Regions from separate parts of the Homo sapiens genome. Here region 2 is linked to region 1. The links are contacts of gene promoters, found by promoter capture Hi-C in human tissues and cell types (Jung and others, 2019). All regions are on one chromosome and are shown on one strand. The core of a region is centred on a gene start or on the middle of the fragment in contact, and the rest is flanking DNA. Distances in the headings are between cores, read along the strand shown. Region 1 holds the start of SEMA4G (semaphorin 4G). Region 2 has its middle 28 kb from the start of SLF2.

What was found. Contacts are between HindIII fragments. The study calls those that stand out against the background at their distance.
Region 2: a fragment that was not itself captured here is called in contact with the fragment with the promoter of SEMA4G in region 1 in 2 of the 25 tissues and cell types used here (IMR-90 fibroblasts and spleen).

The regions. Positions count from the first base shown.
Region 1 is chr10:100,965,992-100,971,516 of GRCh38, forward strand. It overlaps SEMA4G (semaphorin 4G), which reads left to right and starts at 3,513. Exons shown (of 15, transcript NM_017893.4): 1 at 3,513-3,600. RefSeq lists silencers at 1-135, 3,470-3,529. The HindIII fragment of the contact is 9,481 bases long and covers 1,676-5,525 here.
Region 2 is chr10:100,882,063-100,888,310 of GRCh38, forward strand. No RefSeq gene overlaps it. Among named protein-coding and RNA genes, the nearest start is that of SLF2, 28 kb to the right of the region's middle. The HindIII fragment of the contact is 5,759 bases long and covers 897-6,248 here.

The sequences.
Region 1 (5,525 bases), core at 2,263-4,762:
CTAGCCTTTTGATCTTTGCCAAATTACTTAAACTCACTGTTTCCTCATCTGTTGAATAATGGTGTCTACCTCAGGGTTTGTGAGGACTAAGCGAGCTAATGCATGAAAAGTGCCTAGTACAGTGCCTGGCATATAGCAAGAACTCAGCAAATGCTTGCTGCTCTAACGAGGCGTTTCTCTGATGACAGATTTGATCTTAAGCAGACACCTCAGGGTGTACTGACATCTGAGCAAACCATATCTCCAAAAATTATAGTTGTAAGTGTGCCCTATTTCTTTGGATACCGGGAGCTGGAGCTTCTCTGTCCAGCTATCTCTGCTGATTTTTTTTAATTAAAATTTTCACTTTTTAAAAGCCAGCATGCTAAAGCTGAGAAATTGGTGATGGGTGGTGGTTTTCCAGCATTTGTGGGAATGTCCTGACACTCCCTTTCCCTTACTAACCATTCCCTAGGCTGGAGTCAAGAGAGGGCAAACCAGAAGGCCCAGCTTTGGGTCTGACTCCAAGACGACTGGCTGGGAGGAAAACTAAACAGGCTTCTGAGGCACAGTGGAATAGTGAGACTTCCGCATTGTTGCACTGGTGACAGCCCCTACAGAAGAAGCACCTCAGCTGTATATATAGCCAAAATAAAGACCACACCACCTAAAGGGAAAGTGCTGGGCAAACCAGAGATGGAGATGGCAAAGCAGGAACAGAAATGCTGCCACATTGAACAGTAAGCAGGACAACTTGACTAGGCCAGAGTTCTCTTGCTTCAGGGAACCTGCTCAAGTTTCAGGAATTCATACCCACCCCCTTCACCTAGGATCCCTGCTACAGTAAGTAACTGTTCTGTGCAAAGTGGAGCTAAACTCTGGTGTGTAAGTGGCTGACAATCACTGCTGAAGACGGCCAGCACTACCCTCAGCCACTTTCTTACAGCAAAGTTGGGGAAAATAGACTAGCAAAAACAAAACTCATACTTTTCTGTGTGTGTGAAGTTCTCCAGAAGGTTTCCAAATGGAATCCTCTCACAGCCACCCTGCGAAGCAGCCAGGGTAGTGACCTTATGGATGAGTGACAGCCTGTTCAAAGAATGACCTGCCTGTGTCCCAGGATGCAGATTTATGGCTGGGTTAGGGTTAATTTCTTTAGTTGATTTCCAGTTTTCTTTTCCACTGTCTGTCAGTATTCCCCCGTTCTTATTTTACCAGCTGGATTTGCAGAGAGACATACTGTCAATCAAAAGGGCTTCCTATGGGCAGCTCCATTAATTGCTTTTACATCTGATACTCTCATTAGGTTTAGAGATTTTACTGGGAGGCTAGCAGAAGGAAATGGATTGTGGTCTGCTATCAAAAGTACTGAAGTAACTGCCCAGTGATCATTGAAATCACACATTTTGCTCATTTAACAATGTCTGAGTTTGCCATCAGCACCTCAGAGGAGCAAAGCTTGGTTCATAAAGTGAAGTTGAGTGATACTGAGCCTACCACACTGGCCTACTCGCCACCTCCAGAGCTATCTGAAGTCAGCACTGCAGGTTCTGTGAACATTTGGGAAGCTGTGCCTCTTAGCCCCCTGGGCCCCTACAGTTTAATTGCTCTCCTATCTGCTACTGAAGGACCAGCAGTCTTCCTACCCTGCCTCCACTGTTACCACCAACCCACTTTTTGATAAGGACTGCAGATTTATCTTTCTTAGCCCTGCCTTGACTGGTCTTCCCACCTCAGACGTCCTTACTCAGTCCATCATCTCTTTCAGGATTTTCTTCTGTGGTCTTTTTCAAACTACTAGCTGACTTTTCCCTTTTATTTCCCACTAGGAACCCCTCCCCGCCCCCCCCCCCCCCCCAGCCATTTCATCAAATCAAACTCACTGCCCTCTTTCATGCCCCTTCCTTAGTTCCCCAACACAAGCCTGTGCATAAGCTTGAACATTTCTACCTTTGCCAATGGTATTTCCCCTTCTGGCTTACCCTGCTTCCTCCTTCTCAGACTTTTCCAGTCTTGATTGTCCTCTCCATAAACACAAGAATGAACTTCAAGGCAAGTTACTTAATGTCTTAGAGCCTGTTTCCCCATCCATAAAATGGGGCTATAAATTCCTCAGGATGGGATGAGGGTACAAATAAAAAATGAAGCAGGATATTCTTTGTAAAAGTGTGTGTACATTTTTTATTGTGTTTCTCCCCAGCTACCTTCCCTCTCCCCGCCACACACATCCTATTTGCAGAGTGTTGGGGGAGGTGGAACTGTGATGTGGGCCCTGCTGTCTAGCAGTCTGCAGTCACACACAGCCATCCAAACTACGAGATTGTATATGATTCAGTGCCAAACTGTGAGCTTTGGGGAATCCAGAAAGAAGGATGAAGCCTTTCCCAAGTTTCCTTTAGTTAAATGTGCCACTTGAATCCTGTTCTGACTCCTAGGCACATGCAAGAGTCAATCACATATGTTCCTGTGGCCTTTATCATTTTGGTCCATCTCTTGAGCCCACATGAATACTGTCATGGATGGAGGAGGAAGGACCAGGCTGGGTCAGGGCCTGAATGCAGGTTTTGTTTGGACTATAGGGGCTAAGTTCACTTTAATAGGCTGTGACCTATTAAAGGAGGCAGGAACCAAGTTTGCACAGAAGGACCATCCTAGTTGAGTTAAAGGAGTTGGGGAGTTGATTGTGAGGGGTTTCCTAGATTGCTGCTGGGTAAGGTGATTGAATCTGGGAAGGATAGGGTACTTGATTGCCTAGAAGGGTGCACTCTAAGTTCTGGATAAGAATGGTGCCCAAGATGAGCTGGAGGGGAAGGCAAGTGTTTGAATGACCCAGTCCCTGAGGTGAGCCTAGGTTAGGGTTAAGATTTGGTGAGTGAACAGGTGCAAACGCTTGTGGCTTATTTATCCAGAAAAAGCATTTTCTGTGTGCCTTTCAGGTCAGGCTGTTACTTTATCCCCTTCAGGCCTGACCCCATCTCCCCCACGCATAGCTCAAGCTGAACAGCCCCTGAAGCTGGGAATCAAGCCCCTACCTTGTGTTCAGAGCTTCCCTAACGTCCAGTCGCCACCTAGGGTAGCCTTCCCTCCACACCCTAGGCCGAGAGCAGAAGCGGGTGGCAGGAGCACAGGGAGTGAGGTCCAGGTTAGAGGACAGGCCAGAAGGCCCTCCGAGAGGGTCCCCCAACCCCGCAACGCCAGGACAGGTTTGCACGTCCCCAGCAGTAGGCAAGTCAGGGGGGTCCTAGGGTTACAGCGGAGGAGAGGACGGGCTATAAGCATGTGGAGGGTGCACGGGGTGGCGAGGCCACCACCAGGGGGCGATTTCAGGGCCGCAGCGCCTAGAGGTGGGGGGTCGCCCGATGGCCGAAGGCTGTGTGTGAGCCTCGCCCTCAAACCGCCTCTATTGTGCTAGAGTAGGGGGCGCAAAGAAGAGAGTGGCGACCTTCCCCTCACCCCACCCAGTCGGCCCCGCCTTTCAGGACCCCGCCCCACCCCCGGCTCCGCCTCCACCACCCCCCCCCCGCCCCGCCTCCAGCCGCGGCCCCTTCCTCTCGCAGCTGGTGCTGTGGGGCCGCGGAGCCGCGCGTCGCTGTCTCTATGGCCCCGGATCCGAGCGCAAAGGTGAGCAAGGCGAGGAGTGCGGGCGGCGCCCTGGCGTGAGCCTGGGGCTGCGGGCCGGGGGTCGGGCAAGGCCTCCCCCACGTCCATTCTACCCTCCAAGCTGGGCCAGGCCTTTCTCACCACCAAGTCCCCCGGTCCTGCATGACGGCTCTAGAGGGGCGCGGGCCAGGCCTCGGGCTGCGCGGGGTGCAAACCGGCCACCACGGAGTCGGGGACCAGCGCGGGGAGGGGGCCGCGTGGCGAACAGTGTTCCCCAGGATCTGGGTCACGTCTCCCGGCGTCCGGCGGGATCGAAGGAGAGCTTGTCCTCGAGCTGCAGCAGTAGAGACTGAGGTTAGACCTGACGAAGGGAGAGGACCGCGGACTGTCCAGGATGTTGGAGGGAGGGGGTCCCGGGGGAGGGGCTCTCTCAAGCCAGGAGAGACCGCCATCCTACTAGGCAGAGGGAAATACCGCCTACACTAGGCAGGTGGACATCTGGGATGAAGGTCGAGAGCCTGCTGATCCTCCATTGATCCTGTTTGAAGGGTCTCTCCTCCCCAGTTCCCTCCACCCCAAGATCTAATAGAGGAAAGGTGATCAGAGTTCAGGGGGCTGGCCCTGGGGAAGAACCCGAACTGTGGAACTTGGGGTGGAGTGTGGGGCGTGGACTGGAGACCTTAAACCCGTACTTCGCCACTGAAGGGAGGGGTGATATGCTCCGCCCCGCCCACTTAGCCCCGCCCCCTCCCACAGGTTAAGTGGGGGCTGAGAGCTCCAGCCCGTCTCCCACCTTTAGAACCGCAATATACATAGGGGTGGAGGAGTACTAAATTATGCGTTCCATTCCATCTTTGCTGAAGCTAGGGGCCTCCTCCTGCCTGAGTTACTTTCCCATTCCCTCCCTTGTAGAGCGGCCTTGACTCATGCACCCATCCCATCTGCCCATCCAAGGTCAGAAGCCTCCCCCATCACCACACACACACACACACACAACCCCCTCACCACCCCCACACACAAACACACACTTGAAATTGGGCCTTAGAATTGGGACTTTCAGGAACAGAGGCAGGGTTCTGCTCTGCATCTCACCCCAGTGGACACTGGCAGCCTCCAAGCCTATGGCAAAAACTGGACCCCTGTATGCATGTGTGCTTGTCTCTGCATGGATGTAGTTGTGTGTTCAAGAACTGCGTGTGAGCACACATGTACTTGACCCTTCTGTGAACATGATTGCCTGGCCCACTATATCAATGGGTTTGTGTGCATGTCCCTACACATACATGTGTATGTATAGGACCCTCCTGTTGAATAGGTGCACAGTCCTTGACACAAACCCACATGTGTGGGTTTATCTCTCCTCAATGTCTGAGGCTGTGTGACCTGCTGAATGGATGGGCATGTAAATTCAACGTCACATGTGAATATGTATGATTACCTGTGGCTGTGGCCCTCTGTATGAGCATATGTGTGCACAAAACTCCCTGTGAGTATATGTGTGAATGACCCCTGTGAATCCACGTGTTCACAGTCCTCCTTGTGAACATGTGTGTGTGTGTGTGTGTGCACCCATGTGCATGTATATCACCTTCCTAATAGTCACCCATGTGACTCTTAAACTATAAGTGTGACATGCACCACACTGAGTGGCTCCTCTAACCTGGGGCATGTTCCTCCTAGCCATAGTGCTCCCCACACACATGCCTTTTGCACTGAGCAAATAGGAGGTCCCAAAGGTAAACAGGTGTGCCTCCACAGGGAGGGGTGGGGCATGGCCGGCTTGCCTGAAGCTTCCTGCTGTCCCAGATCCCAAACAGGGAGCCTATGCCCTTTCAGGGTCAGGGAATCCTCTTCTCTCCCTTTCATATTTGACTCTACCCCTCAGGGCTCTGCCCCTGCAGTGCTGACCTTTACCTCTTGAATAATTGCTCCTGTTATCCCTCTGG
Region 2 (6,248 bases), core at 2,526-5,025, 84 kb before region 1:
TTCTGGAAGCCAGGGCAGGAGTGTGGTGCTAGCACCCACTGCCTTGTTGCTCACAGAGCCCTGCTCCCTCCCACGCAGCTGCCTGCACTGACATCTCTGAGAGGGCCTTTGATTAAAGAGACAAGTGACTTTGCCCATTCTATTGATCAGAATAAATTACTAGGAACTAATTTATGGGCCTCCCCACAGCCGATGACATGGTGGATTGTGCGCTATTGGTCAGTAAATTGGATTGTCAGGCTAGATTATTGGTTCGTATACAGTTATCTCTCATAGCAATATCAGGCAGCCCAGGTACAAGAGTGAAATCCTTTCTCTGCTGCCAGATGCCAGGATGTGACGAGGCCTTCTCGGGGGGCTGGTGGGGAGGGGCAGTGAGGGAAGAGGAGGAGAGGGGAGGAGAGGAGAGGCGAGGCCTCTGTGCAGGATGCTTATTAATTAGTGCAGCATCACAGCATTAAAAGAACATTAGTGTGGAATCGTCTGCAGAGTGATGGGGAAATGACATTGCAGGCCTCCTCCTGATTCTCCAGCTATGGCTCTGCTGGGGAGAGCAGGGAGGGGGTTGATGAGCAGACGGGGGGATGGGAAAGATAAAGGTTGTTGGGGGGATAAGAGGCCAAGAAGAGGGGAAGAGAAAGGAGAGGCCACATTTGCTGTGAATTGCAAGCAGAGAAGGTCTGCTAAGCGCCAGCGTCGCTGAGCCCCACGCGGGGGAAATGGAGCTGCCGTTCTGCTCCGTACATCACAGCCAACGATGAAAAGTTCTAGAGCTGGGATTTCTCAGGCAATTTGGCCAGTGATGCATGGGGCAGTAGATCCTCGCGCACTCTTCCGTGCTTCTGCCAAGCCAGCAATAACAAAAACTTATTTTTTGCCAGGGAAACGGATATGAGTCAGGCAGCCCATCGGGAATTAGGGGGGCTTTACCACGCCGCTGCGATTTGTACCACTCGGCTGTTTCCCCGAGCTCTAAAGACCTGCCAGGAGGTGACAAAGGCGAGACAATTTCGAGTTCACAGTCCTGTGTCCTCGAAGCATAACAGCATGCTATCGAAGGGGACTTTCAGGGGCTGTGGGTTGCAAAGTCAGCGGTCTTTTCCCCCAAGCTCACTGGGCAGTGGGGAGATGGGGTGAGGAGAAGAGCCACAGAGAGCTGAGGCACTGCTGTGAATTTCTAGAAGAGATGGGCCCACAGCTCTGCCCTCACTGGGCATGGCCAGAAGGGGTGAGAAGGGGGGTGTTGGAGTGCCAACCTGGCCCCAGGGATGAGAGCATCAGCATCCCAAGTGAATGCCCTCTGGGGGCTCCTGCCATGGGCTGCCGGGGTTGTTGCCACCCGTCCAAACTCTGGGTCATCCAATCCCTGGAGAGGTGGACGCGGAAACCCCGCTTGGTCCTCTTTTCTCACTCTCACGGTTAGAGCATGAGCCCGGAGGAGGCCTGCACTTTCTTTGAGGCGTGATCAGGAACACAGATAACCTGTTCTTTGGGCTACAGGCCCCAGGGGAAATGTTCAAATGGAGCACTGAGCCCTTCTGACTTTAGCTATCATTCATCTGACACTGCCAGTAACCCGGCAAGTAAACACCCGCTGGCAGGGACCCTGGGCCTCCAGCTTGCTTGAATTGCCACTGAGAACAGCTGCAAGGTCTCATCAGTGTCTACAGTGACACCAGGATCGCCCCCCACCCACCCTACCTCCCTTAGCAGGCGTGGGGCACGCCGATTTGGATCCTGAGAAAAGGCCCAGCACCACAAACTAAAAATAGTCTGCACATTCCAAAAGACGAAGTTCAAGGGTGTAGAAGATGCAACCCCTTCCCTCAGCCTCTGCATGCTTTTTGTGCCCACTCCCTGGCCTCTGTGCTCTCCAAAATTTAAACTTACAGCCCTCGGCCATTTCAGCATGAGTTTTTATCCTGGTCACTCTCCTTTTCTGCCCTCCATTGATAAACAAAATCAAAGGGGACAGACCCTCAAGTCCCCTTAAGGAGACAAGGTTGGGCTCAGGCCCCAAACCCCAAGGCAGTGCCACCCCACCACTTCTGGCATGACAACCACTTCCATTACAACCACTATGTGGAAATGAGCACAGAAGCCCCCAGAGTACCTGGGCCTCCAAGATGGAAAAGTTTGCAAAGCTTGGCAAAAGAAAAGTGGGCCTGCAAGCCGGTCTATAAATTAGAGACTCATTAACAAGAGGCGGGAAGGGCTTTGGGGGCCTGCGCCTTTCGATTTCTTGTTGAGCTGGTTTATTGCTATTGTTTCTATTTCATACGTTTATTGCAAAACCAATAAAAATTATCTATTAAGAGCAGGAAACTCATCTTTTGACTTGTTGGTTGAGATTTCTACAGAATAACCTTTAACTGGCCCAACATGTCTGCAGGAGAGGAGAAGGCTCACGTAGTTACCTTGAGAGGCCAACCAAGAAGACAGTAGGAAGGCCCAGCCCTTGGGGTGGGGAAGGGGGTGGCCACAAAAACAAGAACACTGTATCCAGAGCCTGCCGAGGGCAAAGCCTTCCCACTGCCATCCTAACCAGTGGGAAGCCATACTGTGTTTTACCTATCCAATATTTTACATTTTTTAATTAATTGAAAACATGTAAAATTTGAGACTTTTCATCATACATGCTGGTATCTGGCTTCTCTTTTAAAATGGCAAGATCAGCCGGGCGTACTGGCTCACACCTGTAATCCCAGCACTTTGGGAGCCCAAGGCGGGTGGATCACGAGGTCAAGAGATTGAGACCATCCTGGCTAACATGGTGAAAACCCATCTCTACTAAAAATACAAAAATTAGCTGGGCATGGTGGCATGTGCCTATAGTTCCAGCTACTCAGGAGGCTGAGGCAGGAGAATCGCTTGAACCCGGGAGGCAGAGGTTGCAGTGAGCCAAGATCGTGCCACTGCACTCCAGCCTGTCGACAGAGTGAGACTCTGTCTCAAAAAAAAAAAAAAAAAAAAAAAAAAAAAAAAAAAAAAAAAGGCAAGATCATTCTGGCTTTCATTCGCACCTGGAAACAACTGTTTCTAGGAGAGAGACACTGTCTTACATTTTTTTTTCTTTTGAGACAAGATCTCGCTTGGTCACCTAGGCTGGAGTGTGGTGATGCCATCATGGCTCACTGCAGCCTCAAGATCCCTGGCTCAGGTGATTCTCCCACCTCAGCCTCCCGAGTAGCTAGGGTTATAGGCGCGTGCCATCATGTCTTGCTAACTTTTTTGTAGTTTTTGGTAGAGATGGAGTTTTGCCACATTGCCCAGGTTGGTCTCAAACTCCTGGGCTCAAGCAATCCACCTGCCTCAGGCTCCCAGTGTCGGGATTACAGGCAAGAACCACTGCACCTGGTCTGCAGCCCCTATTTAGAAGAGGACTAGGTTGGAAGGGGGAGAGAGTTAAACATTTATGAACTATTCTTGAAATAAAGTTCTGTAAGAATGCTTCTAAATCAGACTAATAAAATTTCTCTTCCAAGATCCTCAAAGGAAGGCCCAGGTCTAGTACCAGCTGGAAGGGAAGGGAGCTAACATTTCGTTGCATGCTGATGTGCCAGGCTCAGCACTGACTTTTTTTTTTTTTGAGACAGAGTCTCGCTCTATCACCTAGGCTGGAGTGCAGTGGCGCGATCTCGGCTCACTACAAGCTCCACCTCCAGGGTTCACGCTATTCTCCTGCTTCAGCCTCCCAAGTAGCTGGGACTACAGGGGCCCGCCACCACGCCCAGCTATTTTTTGTGTGTGTGTGTATTTTTAGTAGAGACAGGGTTTCACTGCGTTAGCCAGGATGGTCTCGCTTTCCTGACTTCATGATCCACCTGCCTCGGTCTCCCAAAGTGCTGGGATAATAGGCATGAGCCACCGCGCCCAGTCAGCACCGATCTTTTATGGGCATTATCCCTCTTTTACCAAAAGGGAAATTGAAGCTGGGAGATGTCAGTAATGCGCTCAGGGGCAAAGGATAATATAACCCCTAGCCTGAAAACACCAGCCCTAGAAGACACCAGTAACCATCTCGCCAGCTTTAAAGAAGAAATGGCAGGTACACAGTGTAATTCTCCCAGGCCTCCAGGTGCCCTGAGGGAAGATTCACAACCAATTGAGGGAAAATCCACCCAACTGTGACCCAAGTTAGAACTTGCCTCCAGAGTTACCAACACCCCTAAATCTAGTGAAAGGGAACCACAGGGTCTTTAATAATCACTCTGTCAGGTCACGGGATGGTGACTAATGGGCCTAGAGGAGGAGATGGTGAAAAACACTCTAGGAAATAAATTTGGGTGATTAAATTTCAAGGCAGTTCATGGAACAGCAATCTGAGGCCTAAACTAAGCCATCAAGTTACCAAGAGAATCAAGATTTCAATTTAACCGCTGCTGCCCAGGAACCAAGCCTGCGTCTGCAAAGTATTTGTGGGTTAGAAGTAGGTACCCTCCAGAACTTTCTGAGTAACTCTGGCACCTTCCTAACCTCAGCCATTCCTCCCAAAGGGCCAACTAGCAATAAGTCAAAGAATGCGTGTGTTTCTCCGGTTGTTTCATAATTCCAGGTCTTTAAGTAAAAAGAAAAATCATGGCTCACCGAGTAAGGGAGGTACGGGTTGTGGGAGGGCCTTCTATCAGGCGCAGGCCAGAGCCATACACAAATCTTTGAGAGACTCTCAGTTTACTAAACTAACAGGAGAGCCCAAATTCCTCCAATTCCCTGCTATTTCAATTGAATGCTATGTTCTCTGATTGGACCTTATCCCCAAACAGTCATGGTCTAATGTCTGGGGCATAATCCCCCCTCCAACTGAATCACACCCCAGGTGCTGTTAAGCTTTGCAGGTGAACACAACCCAGGCTCTAAGGTAAGAACCCTAGGTCTGATTCCCCATCAGATACTCTCCATGCTCACTGTTTATAGTCCCTGGGGCATCACTACTTTAACTTGTTTATGTCTTTTTGAGTAAAGTCAGTGTGGGGAGAGCTGGAGACGGTGGCAGGCCTCTGTAATGGAAGAACCCAGGCTGGAAGAGCTTAGCAACTGCAGCTGCTCCCATCTCTCTCTGTTTCTCAATCTCTTCCTCTCTCGAGATTTCACCTCTCTCTGCCCTGGCTCCACCAGCTGTTTCCTGCAAATCCAGCTGAGACAGCTGCTGGCCCCACCATGCTAAATTTCCAGGGGCCCTGGAACCCCTTGGCTGTCTCGGCCCAAATGTGGGCAAATCTCAGGCGTCCAGACAAGGCTGAGATTGTTCAAAAAGCACTTCGCTAGGAAACTGGGGGGAACGCCAAAAAAGTAAATTACAAAGGCAGAGAAACAGACAACTTACGGAACACAGATTCCTTCCCCAGCATAATTCAAGTCTAGACCCAGAATAGTTTGTTGCAAGAACAAGAGGCTAAGAAGGGTAGGAAGAAAAGGTACAGGTTTTTGACCCCTTGCTCCTCATTCTTCCTCAATTCATTAGGGCTTGGAGTTTAGCCTGAGATAGAGGTTGTTCTGGGAAAGGGCCATATGTGCAAAGTGGCCCCCAAATGCTGAAGGAGCTGAGAAACAAAGAACGAGGCAAACAAATCCAATTTGTCAGTAAAGGGTGTTTTATTGGGGGGAACTTACAGAGAGAAGCATGGTCTTGCATGGATGCAAGATAGGTAGATTTCTGCACTGTTACTCCCCAGACCCATGGCTTATATACCATAGAGAAAGGGTGCACACACTCCAGCAGGACAATGCAAGGCAACCCTCCGGAAGAGGCAAGAATGCTACATGCGTCATAGCCTATAATTTGTGCGATAACATCAGGGTTGCTTTGTTCTTACACTAGAGACAAACAAGGTAGGAATCAGGAGGCACTCAGGACTGGGGCTACTCATAAGTTAACATGGCGGGTTAGCATCCGCGATGGAGTCGCTCTTGTCTCCACAGCGGTTAACACCATTGCCATGTCTCATTGAGTTCTCGGCTTTCAGAACAATGCCACCCAGGCTCCTGTCTGAATCTGGCTCCCAAATCTAGGCTGTGCTATGTCTGCTCTGCCCCCTAGTTGGGGCTCCTGACCTGGCCCCTGAACGAGGAATGCACTCCTCTGCCGACCTTCTTATGCCGGTTCCGGGGTGCCCCTTCCAGAGAGCTCAGTGACTCTGCTCCACCCACAAACATGCGACCTTCTCCCCAAGGCTGCTTCTACCTTTCCTTAAAGCTAAAATTGGCCAGGCATGGTGATTCACACTTGTAATCCCAGCACTTTGGAAGGC